2 separate regions of the Homo sapiens genome follow, and region 1 is linked to region 2. The links are contacts of gene promoters, found by promoter capture Hi-C in blood cells and fetal thymus (Javierre and others, 2016). All regions are on one chromosome and are shown on one strand. The core of a region is centred on a gene start or on the middle of the fragment in contact, and the rest is flanking DNA. Distances in the headings are between cores, read along the strand shown.

Region 1 (5,399 bases), core at 258-2,757, 1.6 Mb before region 2:
TGTACTTGTGCACTAAGCAAAATATACTTTTTAAATGGTCAATGAAATGAACCAAATGACTATTTCTATGTGTAGACCCCAGGGCAGGAGGCTCCCAGGGGTGAGCCACTGGCTTTGGTGGCTGGCTAGCTGACTACGAACCACCTGAGGCTGTTTGGAATTTCTTCCATCTGTCTCCAGGGCTTGTTGATCCCACAGTATTTGTCTTGCAGTGAAGAGACATGCTTTTAACACACTGGGAAGCTTTAAATGGGTGTCTGGTTTGTTACTTTGAGTCATTTTCACCCGAAGCCTTCTTAACCATCATGCTGCTTCAGATGAAGCCACTGATGAGAAAAGTGAAGCGTGAGATCGATCCTTTGCAAGGCTCAGCACTAAAGTCCCACCATGGACTTTATCTCGTGCCCTCAGGGGCAGAGCGTTTTAGGTGGTCCCTCTTTAGGGAAAGAAATGAAAGTGGCCTTGTAGTGATTTCTCTGGATTAGGGGAAGAAGAACGCCTAGAGTTCATAAATTCAATCCCATCATTGTCTCCACAATGCCAAACAATGGTGTTTATTTGTTGTTGTTTTTTCATTCTTGAATTGACTAGGAAGTTAGCTTGCTCTAACTTGTCATTAAAAAAGCCATGTAGCCCAGGCATGGTGGCTCACACCTGTAATCCCAGCACTTCAGGAGGCCAAGGAGGGTGGATCACGAGGTCAGGAGTTCGAGATCAGCCTGGCCAATATGGTGAAACCTCGTCTCTACTAAAAATACAAAAATTAGCCAGGCGTGGTGGCATGAACCTGTAGTCCCAGCTACTCAGGAGGCTGAGGCAGAAGAATCACTTGAACCCGGGAGGCAGAGGTTGCAGTGAGCCAAGATCACGCCACTGGACTCCAGCCTGGGTGACAGAGCAAGACTCTGTCAAAAAAAAAAAAAAAAAAAAAAAGGCCGTATAAGCCTCAAGAGGCGGCCAGCCCTGTGTGAGGTGGAAGTTAAGAGCATGGGGTTCAGGCATCTTGCATTCAAATCCAGCTTTTTCACTGACTGTGGGATGTTATTTGAACTTTCCAAGATAATAATAGTATCTATATCACAGAGGTGAGTGCTAAGTGACATAATGCTGGCAAATAGTAAGCACCTAATATGTGTTAGGTATTATTGTTACTGTTGTGTTTATTAGGCCCTGTTTGTCTTTGGGGACTTAGAGTTTTTCATTTGAAGTCCTTCAATTCTCTTCCTCATTCCTACCATCTCCCCTTCACCCCTGCAGCTTGCTGAAAACTGTAGGACACACAGGCAACTGTTAATACTTCAGACACTATAGAAATATCATAATATCGTTTCATACGGGCTATACAATGTGGCATCATTAAAACATAATTGGCTAGGGTTGAGCAGAGGGAACAGTGAAATTAATTATAAACTAATGTTTATATTCACTGTGCAAATAAAGACCCTAAGAAAGACAACAGGCCGGGCGCGGTGGCTCACGCCTGTAATCTCAGCACTTTGGGAGGCCGAGGTGGGTGGATCACCTGAGGTCCAGAGTTCGAGACCAGCCTGACCAACATGGAGAAACCCTGTCTCTACTAAAAATACAAAATTAGCCGGGCGTGGTGGCGCATGCCTGTAATCCCAGCTACTCCGGAGGCTGAGGCAGGAGAATGGTTTGAACCCGGGAGGCGGAGTTTGCTGTGAGCCGAGATCGCGTCGTTGCACTCTAGCCTGGGCAACAAGACCAAAACTCCATCTCAAAAAAAAAAAAGAAAGACAACAAAAATGACAGGGACAGATCTTCCTTTAGGAAGTTTACAACCTTGTTGGAGAAGGTAATTTAGACTCTTGGGAATGTATCAGGGTAATTAAGGGGTCATATGAATATAGGCTTTGATTAAGTAATGAGCAATGTTTGAATTTTGCCCACAGTCTATTTATCCAACAAAATAAGGTTTCCAATAAATATTTATTGTTATAGTAAAAGATCATCTGTACAGAATGTCTTGGACAAGACCTATACAGATTTCATAATGCTCCTGGAGTTTAACTATATTATTTCCAAAAACGCATTTTCTTTTGTTGCCCTTTGATGAAGTGCCAACATCTTCTGGATGTATTTTCTTTGTTTTCTGATCCATTAATGGATCAGGAGCTAGGATATCAAAGGAGCAAGGTATAATGCGTATTTTGAATTACAGGCCTTTAGAGATCAGTAGATGCTGGAAGAGACTTTTCCCCTATCTGCATAAAGACTGGGCAGATCCACCAAGGAGAACATTGTTTTTCCTCCCTCCCTTGCTGTCAGTCCTTAACCTCTCCTGAAGCACAGGATGAAGCTGTTCTCTGAAGTATCTGCCTAAAGTCCAGACCTACCAGAGTACAAAACAATTACCACTTGTCTTTCCTGAGTTTTCGTGAACTGAACCCATATCATAAGAAAGAAGACTAAAGTCTGTTAACAAACCTAGAGACTTTTTTCACAAACCACTTTCTTCCCTGTGGGCCTAACAGACTTTGTCTAAGACCGTTGTATGTTCTTCAAACCCATTGAGTTCCCCTAAAAATAAATCATTTACAATCTCCCAAAAATCATCCACACTTCCCATCTCCCTTTCCCCTAAGAAGTAGGGTATATCACCATCCATATCCCACTGGGATACTGGGCAACCACTGTGATTCTTCCCCTGTGCATGGTAGTAATACATTTGTATGCTTTTTCTCTTCTTAATCTGCTTTTTTATTAGTTCATTTTTCAGTGAACCTTCCAAGAGCAAAGGGGAAGCTTTCCCTTCACCACTGCAATATAAAATATATATTTGAATAATTATAACTCAGTGCTTTACAACATTACCCACCTAAATATATAAAGGACTGAGAATTTTGTGTTATCACTGAGGCCACTGTGGCATTCCCATCATCTTCCTACACAGCCCACATCACCATGTAGAATGGCTCATCACCACATCACCAGCTAGATTTCACCCCATGCCCCACATTGGAACAGATTCATATATGTACTCTAGAGCCCAGAAGAGTGCTCCGCATATGTGCTGTATGTATGTAACTAGCTCATTTACATTTTGCATACCAGCAATTTCATATGATTTCTGAACAAAATTTCTACTAGCACACAAGCTAATAATTGCTCATCTACATTGGACTGGGCAAAGCTCCTTTCCAAAGCTACAGGTCTGGCTCATGGAAAGCCCATGTGACATTCCACATACAGTCACCTCTCTGTGATCAGAGCAACCAGCCAGCCACAGCATCCTGCATTTTGCTTGTCCAGATGTGAATTAGAAGCCTGCTTTTTTTTGTCCCTCAAATTACAGGGGACACATATCAAATTATCTCAGTGGTTGTTAGGAAGCAGAAGGTTAATTATGTTGACTCCAATCCCCTGCAGTAAGAATCAGAGACTCCTGCAGGAAAGGGCAGTGTTCAAAACTTTCAATTGACAAGAGAGTAAGCATTGACTCTGCCCAGAACATGGTAGTCATCCGGATCCTATAAATGTAATCCTGGAATTGTGACTGGAAAGGAATAGGGAGCCCCAGAGGAGCGTGTGGGTTTGGTTGTTTGGAAATTTGCTTGAGTTAAATAGGTAATACAGGTCCTAGTTTTCAATTATTCCCTCATCCCTCCCTTTTTCTTTTGCCCATTTTATGTCATGCAACATATTTCTATCATCCAGGATCAGTTGGAACTGAGGAGTGCCCATACTGTTCCCCTCTTCCCAAAACCCTCGTGGGTGGAGTGGGAAGCGACAAGGTATGGAGAAGGATGACAGGGTGGACACAAAATCTCATTTTAGTTGTCGAAAAAAAGTCCTAGAAAACAGAGTCTACAGAGATGGCCCCCATGACAAAGGCTCCAATGGCACTGATTTTTCTCCATTTCAAGGCACCAGAAATTTTTTTTTCTTTAATTTGAGAAAAGGGAGAGGGAAAGATCTTCTAGAAGTGTGTGTACAACAATAATAATGCTATAACTACTTGTCAAATGCTTACTAAAGAAATTAGTATAATTCTCAATACCAAGTTTCAGATTTTGATCCATGTGTTCTGGGCTAGATTGAGGACCTTAAACTGGCCTCTCTTTATTGGACTTCTCCAGAGAGTCACTCTTACTCCTGACTCCACGAAAGAAAAGTTTACTGTTATAAAATTTTGTATTTTTTTTCAACGACCTTGCTCTTTTCTCCCATACTCCTCTATATAATCTGCCATTTGGGTGGGAGGAAGCTCTAGAGGTCTGTAATGGAGACAGTAAAGCAGGGTTTGCAGGAGGAAGAGCTGTTGAGGAATTTTTGCGGGAACAGGAGTTGTGGTGGCCACTCTAGGACTGCAAGGTACCCCACAGGACACACGGGAGACACACTTCAGACTGAGCTGGGGGAACTTGACATTACAAAAGTAAATGACTCTTCTCAGGGAGCTTTAGAGATTTCCAATGGTAAGGAAGGATGAGTACAAAGAACTAGGACCAGTTGAACACACCCAGCTGTTCCCAAAATGCCACTTGCACTCTCTTTCTAAAAATGAAGTGTTAAGTCACAGAGAGGAGAAAAGAGATGACTGCCTCCCTTTTTCTGCTATATATGGAACCTTCAGTCATTTGTTGTAGGTGAGTTGCAAGCATTTAAAGGAATTAGTTGACCTTCGTGTTTTGCATAAATACTGATCACAGAGAAACTTTAGAGTATTGTCAAATGGTCTAGATCTGCATTGTCTCACACAGTAGCTCTTAGCACCATGTGGCTATTGTAAAATGTGGCTGGTGTGACTGAAGACCTGAATATTTAACTTTCTTTTCTTATAATTAATTTATATGCAACTCAAATACAGAATATTTGAAATTAATTTCATCTCTTTGCTTGTACATTTTTGAAAATATTTGAAAATAAATTTGTTGAGTGTATCAATAGTTCACTCTGAGTAGTTGCTCAGGGTATATGAGTTCACTGTATGAGTAACACAAATTCATCTGTTAATGGACATTAAGATCGTTTTCAGTTTGGGGCTATTCCAAATAAAACTGCTAGGAACATTTTTGTACAAGTCTTTGTAGGGGCATATATTTCCTTTCCTCTTAGGTAAATACCTAGAAATAAAATGGCTGGGTCCTTTGGCAGCTATAAGTTTTGACTTTTTTCCGTCATTTGATATCCTTACCAGCAGTGTGTAGGAGTTCCTGTTCCTCCACAAACTTGCCATCATTTGGTCAGTCTTCAATTGTAGCCCTTCTAAAAGGTATACAGTAGTATCTCACTGTGGTTTTAATGTGCATCCCTGGATGACTAATGACACAGAACATTTTTTGATGTTCTTATCTGCAACCAGTATATCTTTGGTGAACCATGTTCAAATATCTTGCTCATTATTTAATTGGGTTGATTTTTTTTCTTATTATTGC
Region 2 (5,081 bases), core at 922-3,421:
AGGCTAAGGTGGGAAGATCACTTGAGCCCGGGAGGCAGAGGTTGCAGTGAGCCAAGATTGTGCCATTGCACTCCAGCCTGGGTGACAGTAGACCCCATTTCAAAAAACACAGAAAAAAATTACTAGAAATTGAAAATTATCCATGCAGCTTTTATTTGTGGCTCACATTTTGCTTCTAAAGTGCAGAGCTGCCCTACATGTCATGCAAGTGATGGTGAGAACCATGTTTCCTACATCGAGCATCTTTAATACCCACGTAAAGGAAAGACCTGTGCTCAGAAAGTGAAAGACTAAACACATGCTATGATGTCATGTTGGAGCTAGAAGGGAACTTCGAGTCCATCATTTTCCAGTCCAGGAAACTGGGGCATGTTTATAAGCATTCACGGGACTGCATGCCTTCAAAACAACTTAAAAATGGTCTTTGTTTTGTTGTCTTCCTTCTGCAAATCTGACTGAAGTACTTAGGGAAAAAATGTGAAAACACAGGAAAGTTTAAGTTAGCATTAGATCTCAACTGGTTTGTCAATATCCAATTTTAGAACACAAAAGGACATTACAGCTTGGCAGGGCTTGTCCATCCTCGTAAACGCCCAGCGCTTTACGGCATCAGAATCTAAAAAGCTCTTCACTGGTTGTCGAATCAGTTGGGATTGGTAGTTCATAAACATAAAACCATAAACCATATCCAGCAGTGAGTATTTATCTAGCAGGGCACAAATTCATGGATCCATGCAAGCCCAGAGTTAGAACCACTAGGTGCCCCTTGGAAGCTGAAAAAGTGGAAGCTGACTTCCACTTCCGTGGTCAAATAGAGCACAGAAAGGCTGCGAAGTTCCTGCATGGGGACGCAGAAATGCCTGGTAAGTTTCCTGCACCGTGGACCTTGAGCCTGCGGTGGGCCCTTGTTAGCACCCGCAGAGGTCCCAGAAAGCTGCCTCCACAGCTTGCAGGGGCTGGTAAGAAGCTCCCAAGCTACCGCCCACATGGTGAGGCAACCTGTGGAGGCAAGGAAGCCAAAAAATAAGGAACAAATAGGATTAGAACAAAAAACCACCTCATGCAGCTTCCACGGGCCACCTCCCTCCATTAGACAGCAAGGCGGTTTGTATCCCTTCCTGACCTGCTCTCCGGGGAGCGCACGAAGAGGATATAGGGTCAGGGGAGGCAAGGGAAAGAGGAAACCGCAGTTTATGAAAGGACATTTAACCTCTTTGCGAGCGTGCATGCGCGCGCGCGCACACACACACACACACACACACACACACAAAAGTACAAACAACATTAAGGAAATACACACTACATTAAAAATTGGGCATAGGGACTTGGAATCGGAGTTGAATTTTTTTTAAATTTTAATTTTGCCTTTGATTTATGCATTGGTTTTTTTTTTTTTCGTAAGAGGTTGTTCCTTTCTAGGCCCTGGAGGACTGTATCATCTTATACAAATCCAAGGGAAAACAATCAAAATAAGAAAAGAAAAGAAAACAAACAAACAAAAAACAGACTGATACGAGAAAGAGCTTTGCTCCAAGACCCGCAGCAGACAGTTGAGTAGGTAGAAGTCCAAGCTGCTGCAGAGGAATTCGGTTTGCTCCAGACAAACGGGGGCGTGGCGTGCAGCGCAGTACTGGGAACTGCTGCAAACAAAACTTCCAAGGGGACGAGGAGTAGGTTCCAGGCGATGGAAAGCAGTGGGATGGGGAAGGATAGGGCAACAGTGCCAAGAGGGGAGCAGAGCGCGGGGAACCTGGAGAGGGAGGGTCAGGGCTGCGGAGGGCTGAGCTGCGGTGGAGAGCTCTGGGGCCCCTCACCAAGCTAGTGGCGTCTTGGGTGGAAGTCAGGCCCCCAGAGATCCGGCCGGCCTTAGCTGTCACTCAGGCAACCCCGGAGCCGCCGCAGACACCGGATCCACTGGAAGGGGGCGAAGCCGCGGGGAGGAATGGGGGACACTGGGGAAGGGGCGTCGCCCCTGCCGCCCCCGCCCTCTCCAGTGCCATTGGGCGGCTGCTGCGGAGCCCGCGCCACCTTTTCTCCATCCCACCCCGCCCGTCTGGCCCCGCCTGGCCGCTGGTCCGCGCCCCGCTGCGCTCGTCCGGGGGCTGGTCCGGCCCGGGCCTTTGACGTCACCAGCAAGTTTGCTGCCCTCGGCGTCCCACGTGTGGCGGCGGCCAGCGGCGGCCCAGGAGGCAGCCGGTGAGCGCCTGCGAGCAGAGTGGCGGGGGCCGCTGACAGGTCCCGCGCAGCCCAGCCCAGCCCAGCCACGCGGCTCACAGGTGGGGTCCAAGAGCAGTTTGGAGCAACCCGGCGCTACGGAGAGGGGTGGACGGCTCTGCACGGGCCTCCTGTCTCCCGCTCGGGCAGAGGGACTCGGGGGGACCTCGCTCCTTGGCTGAGAGAACCTGAACTCGGGCGGAGAGAACGCGCCCAGGCGGGCAAGGGGACCAGAGAAAGCCGGGGCTGGAAGTCACTGTCGCTCGCCACTGTCTGGAGCGCACGGAGCGCAGAGGCCCGGCAGCCGCGCGTGCCCTCACGGGGACCGAGCCAGTGATGCAGGATCGCTGAGCGGAGATCCGCGCCGAGAAGTCTCTCGGGGCCGGGGCTGAGACGCACGCCTTCGACACCGCTGCCAAGACCCCGATTCCGGCGACTCTTGCGGGGAACCGAGGGGCCAAGGCTGCCCCAAGCTCAGGACTTGGGCGAGTCTAAGACGATGGTTTCTTAAGCACGGACCCGCGTTCCCCTTCCCGCTCCCTCGACTGGAGGCAGGGATCCTGCGCGGGGCCCCCGGGATTCCGTTTCCCCGCGGAGCCCCGGCCGCTGCCTCCCGGGACAGTTCGCACGGCCACAGGGGCGCACGGCGATGTGGCCTCCGTCCAGCGCGCTGGCCCGCCGGGGGGATGCTCTGGCACCTGTCGGGGTCCAGGCCTAGCATGGCCGGCGCGTTGCCCGACGTCGCCTCCGGCTAGGATGGCCCCTCCGGGCCCGGCCAGTGCCCTCTCCACCTCGGCCGAGCCGCTGTCCCGCAGCATCTTCCGGAAGTTCTTGCTGATGCTCTGCTCCCTGCTCACGTCCCTTTACGTCTTCTACTGCCTGGCCGAGCGCTGCCAGACCCTGTCCGGCCCCGTCGTGGGGCTGTCCGGCGGCGGCGAGGAGGCGGGGGCCCCTGGTGGCGGCGTCCTGGCCGGAGGCCCGAGGGAGCTGGCGGTGTGGCCGGCGGCGGCACAGAGAAAGCGCCTCCTGCAACTGCCGCAGTGGCGGAGGCGCCGGCCGCCCGCGCCCCGCGACGACGGCGAGGAGGCGGCCTGGGAAGAAGAGTCCCCTGGCCTGTCAGGGGGTCCGGGCGGCTCCGGGGCCGGAAGCACCGTGGCCGAGGCCCCGCCGGGGACCCTGGCGCTGCTCCTGGACGAAGGCAGCAAGCAGCTGCCGCAGGCCATCATCATCGGAGTGAAGAAGGGCGGCACGCGGGCGCTGCTGGAGTTCCTGCGCGTGCACCCCGACGTGCGCGCCGTGGGCGCCGAGCCCCACTTCTTCGACCGCAGCTACGACAAGGGCCTCGCCTGGTACCGGTGAGCGGGGCGGGCCCGGGCTGGGGCTGAAGGATCCGGGGGTCCTGGGCTGGGAAAGACGTGGAGGAGCCCTCGGTGACCCCCAGTTCGCCCTCCTCCCCACTTCATGCAGAAGGCGAAGGGTCGTCAAGGGTCTTTCTTCCCTCTCCGCCTTCTCCTTCCTGGGAAGTGGATGTTGAAGGAGAGAGTGGGAGGGAAATTCTGGCCTTCATAATTTTCATCCTTGGGAATCCCTTGCCAGCAAATAGCCAGTCTGGTCTCTTTCTCCTGCTCTGCGAAAGTATTCATGTATTTAACTAAAGGAAAAAAAAAAAGTCTCTTCTAAATTAGAAACCTGTTCAACAATTAATAGATTGCCTTCTCCTTCCCAAGGAAGCCCGTTTTCATTCTTTATCTTTTGGAAAGTTCTTTGTGGTTAACACAGTCTTTACCATCAGGTATTTATTTACCTTGACCTTTTGCCAGATAGTTGTCCTAGGTGGGAAGTAATATAGAGACTTAGTAAAAGTGTCAAGAACCAGAGAATCTGGGTAGTTTGGAAAATATATGTCTGTCTGAGCAAGGGAAAGCAACCAGGCACTGTATTTTAAAGGACGCTTGGCAATAACTTTTGTTTGAGGGCAAGGAATGAGTTTTGTAAAGTGCTTTTGATATTTGCAGGGAAAAGTAACTTTTGTCTTTTGACTGACAGAAACTTTTCTAAAGATCTTCAATCCTCTTTACAAATAAGGTAGCCAATTAAAAGAAGAAGACAACAGAGAGAAAAATACATTGGCACAACTTTGCCAATACAGTTTAGGAAATAAGTCTGGCTTAGATCTTAATCTTAAATTTGCCAGTCTCTTCAAATTCAGACCACCTTTAATAATAAAATCAGCCAGATTCTAATAAAGCTAGTGTCGCCTGGATTTTGTTTGCCATAATATATTGGCTTTTTTTTTCTTTCTTCAAAGTACCAGTAAAAATTATGTTGCTAGAATTTTCCATTTTATAAAGTTTATCTTGTTCATAAAAGATGCATTCTCTTTGTTATTTTAACTGAAACAGTTACAAAAATTACAACATAATTTAGGTATTTTCAAAAAGCCCATTAAATTAATCATTCATCCCCAACACAGAAATGGATATGATTTGACAAGTTTATTTACTTGAGGGGCCAATTGCAGTCTCAGATTGATTTCAGGAGCCGAATTTACAGTCAATCCACTCAGAGAGAAAAGATTTGGCCCTAAAAATAGAATTTGAACATTAAACACTTTTAAAACAGTAACTTTCCATTTGTTGGAAAGAAAAAACAAACAACCTTCCCTTAATATAGATGATATATCATTTAAAATCATCAGCCACTTAAAATATCCCCTTGTGTTTCTGTCATTTATGTTGTATCCTCTGGGAAGTTCTTATAAAAATGACCTGTTGAATCTGGAAACAACAGGTCCTTCTTTTTAGCACAAAGGCAGCTCTGTTTTTTCCATCAAGGACACGAGAAAGAAGTGATTAAAGACCCCTAAA

The links. Contacts are between HindIII fragments. The CHiCAGO score rates a contact against its expected background, and 5 or more counts as called.
Region 1: a fragment that was not itself captured here is called in contact with the fragment with the promoter of HS3ST3A1 in region 2 in 3 of 17 cell types (M2 macrophages, M1 macrophages and M0 macrophages); the score reaches 16.7 in M2 macrophages.

What each region holds. Positions count from the first base shown.
Region 1 is chr17:15,208,372-15,213,770 of GRCh38, reverse strand. No RefSeq gene overlaps it. Among named protein-coding and RNA genes, the nearest start is that of MIR4731, 41 kb to the left of the region's middle. The HindIII fragment of the contact is 2,523 bases long and covers 246-2,768 here.
Region 2 is chr17:13,599,019-13,604,099 of GRCh38, reverse strand. It overlaps HS3ST3A1 (heparan sulfate-glucosamine 3-sulfotransferase 3A1), which reads left to right and starts at 2,171. Exons shown (of 2, transcript NM_006042.3): 1 at 2,171-3,569. The coding sequence starts at 2,971. RefSeq lists a silencer at 1,454-1,748 and an enhancer at 2,597-3,217. The HindIII fragment of the contact is 9,085 bases long and covers 1-5,081 here.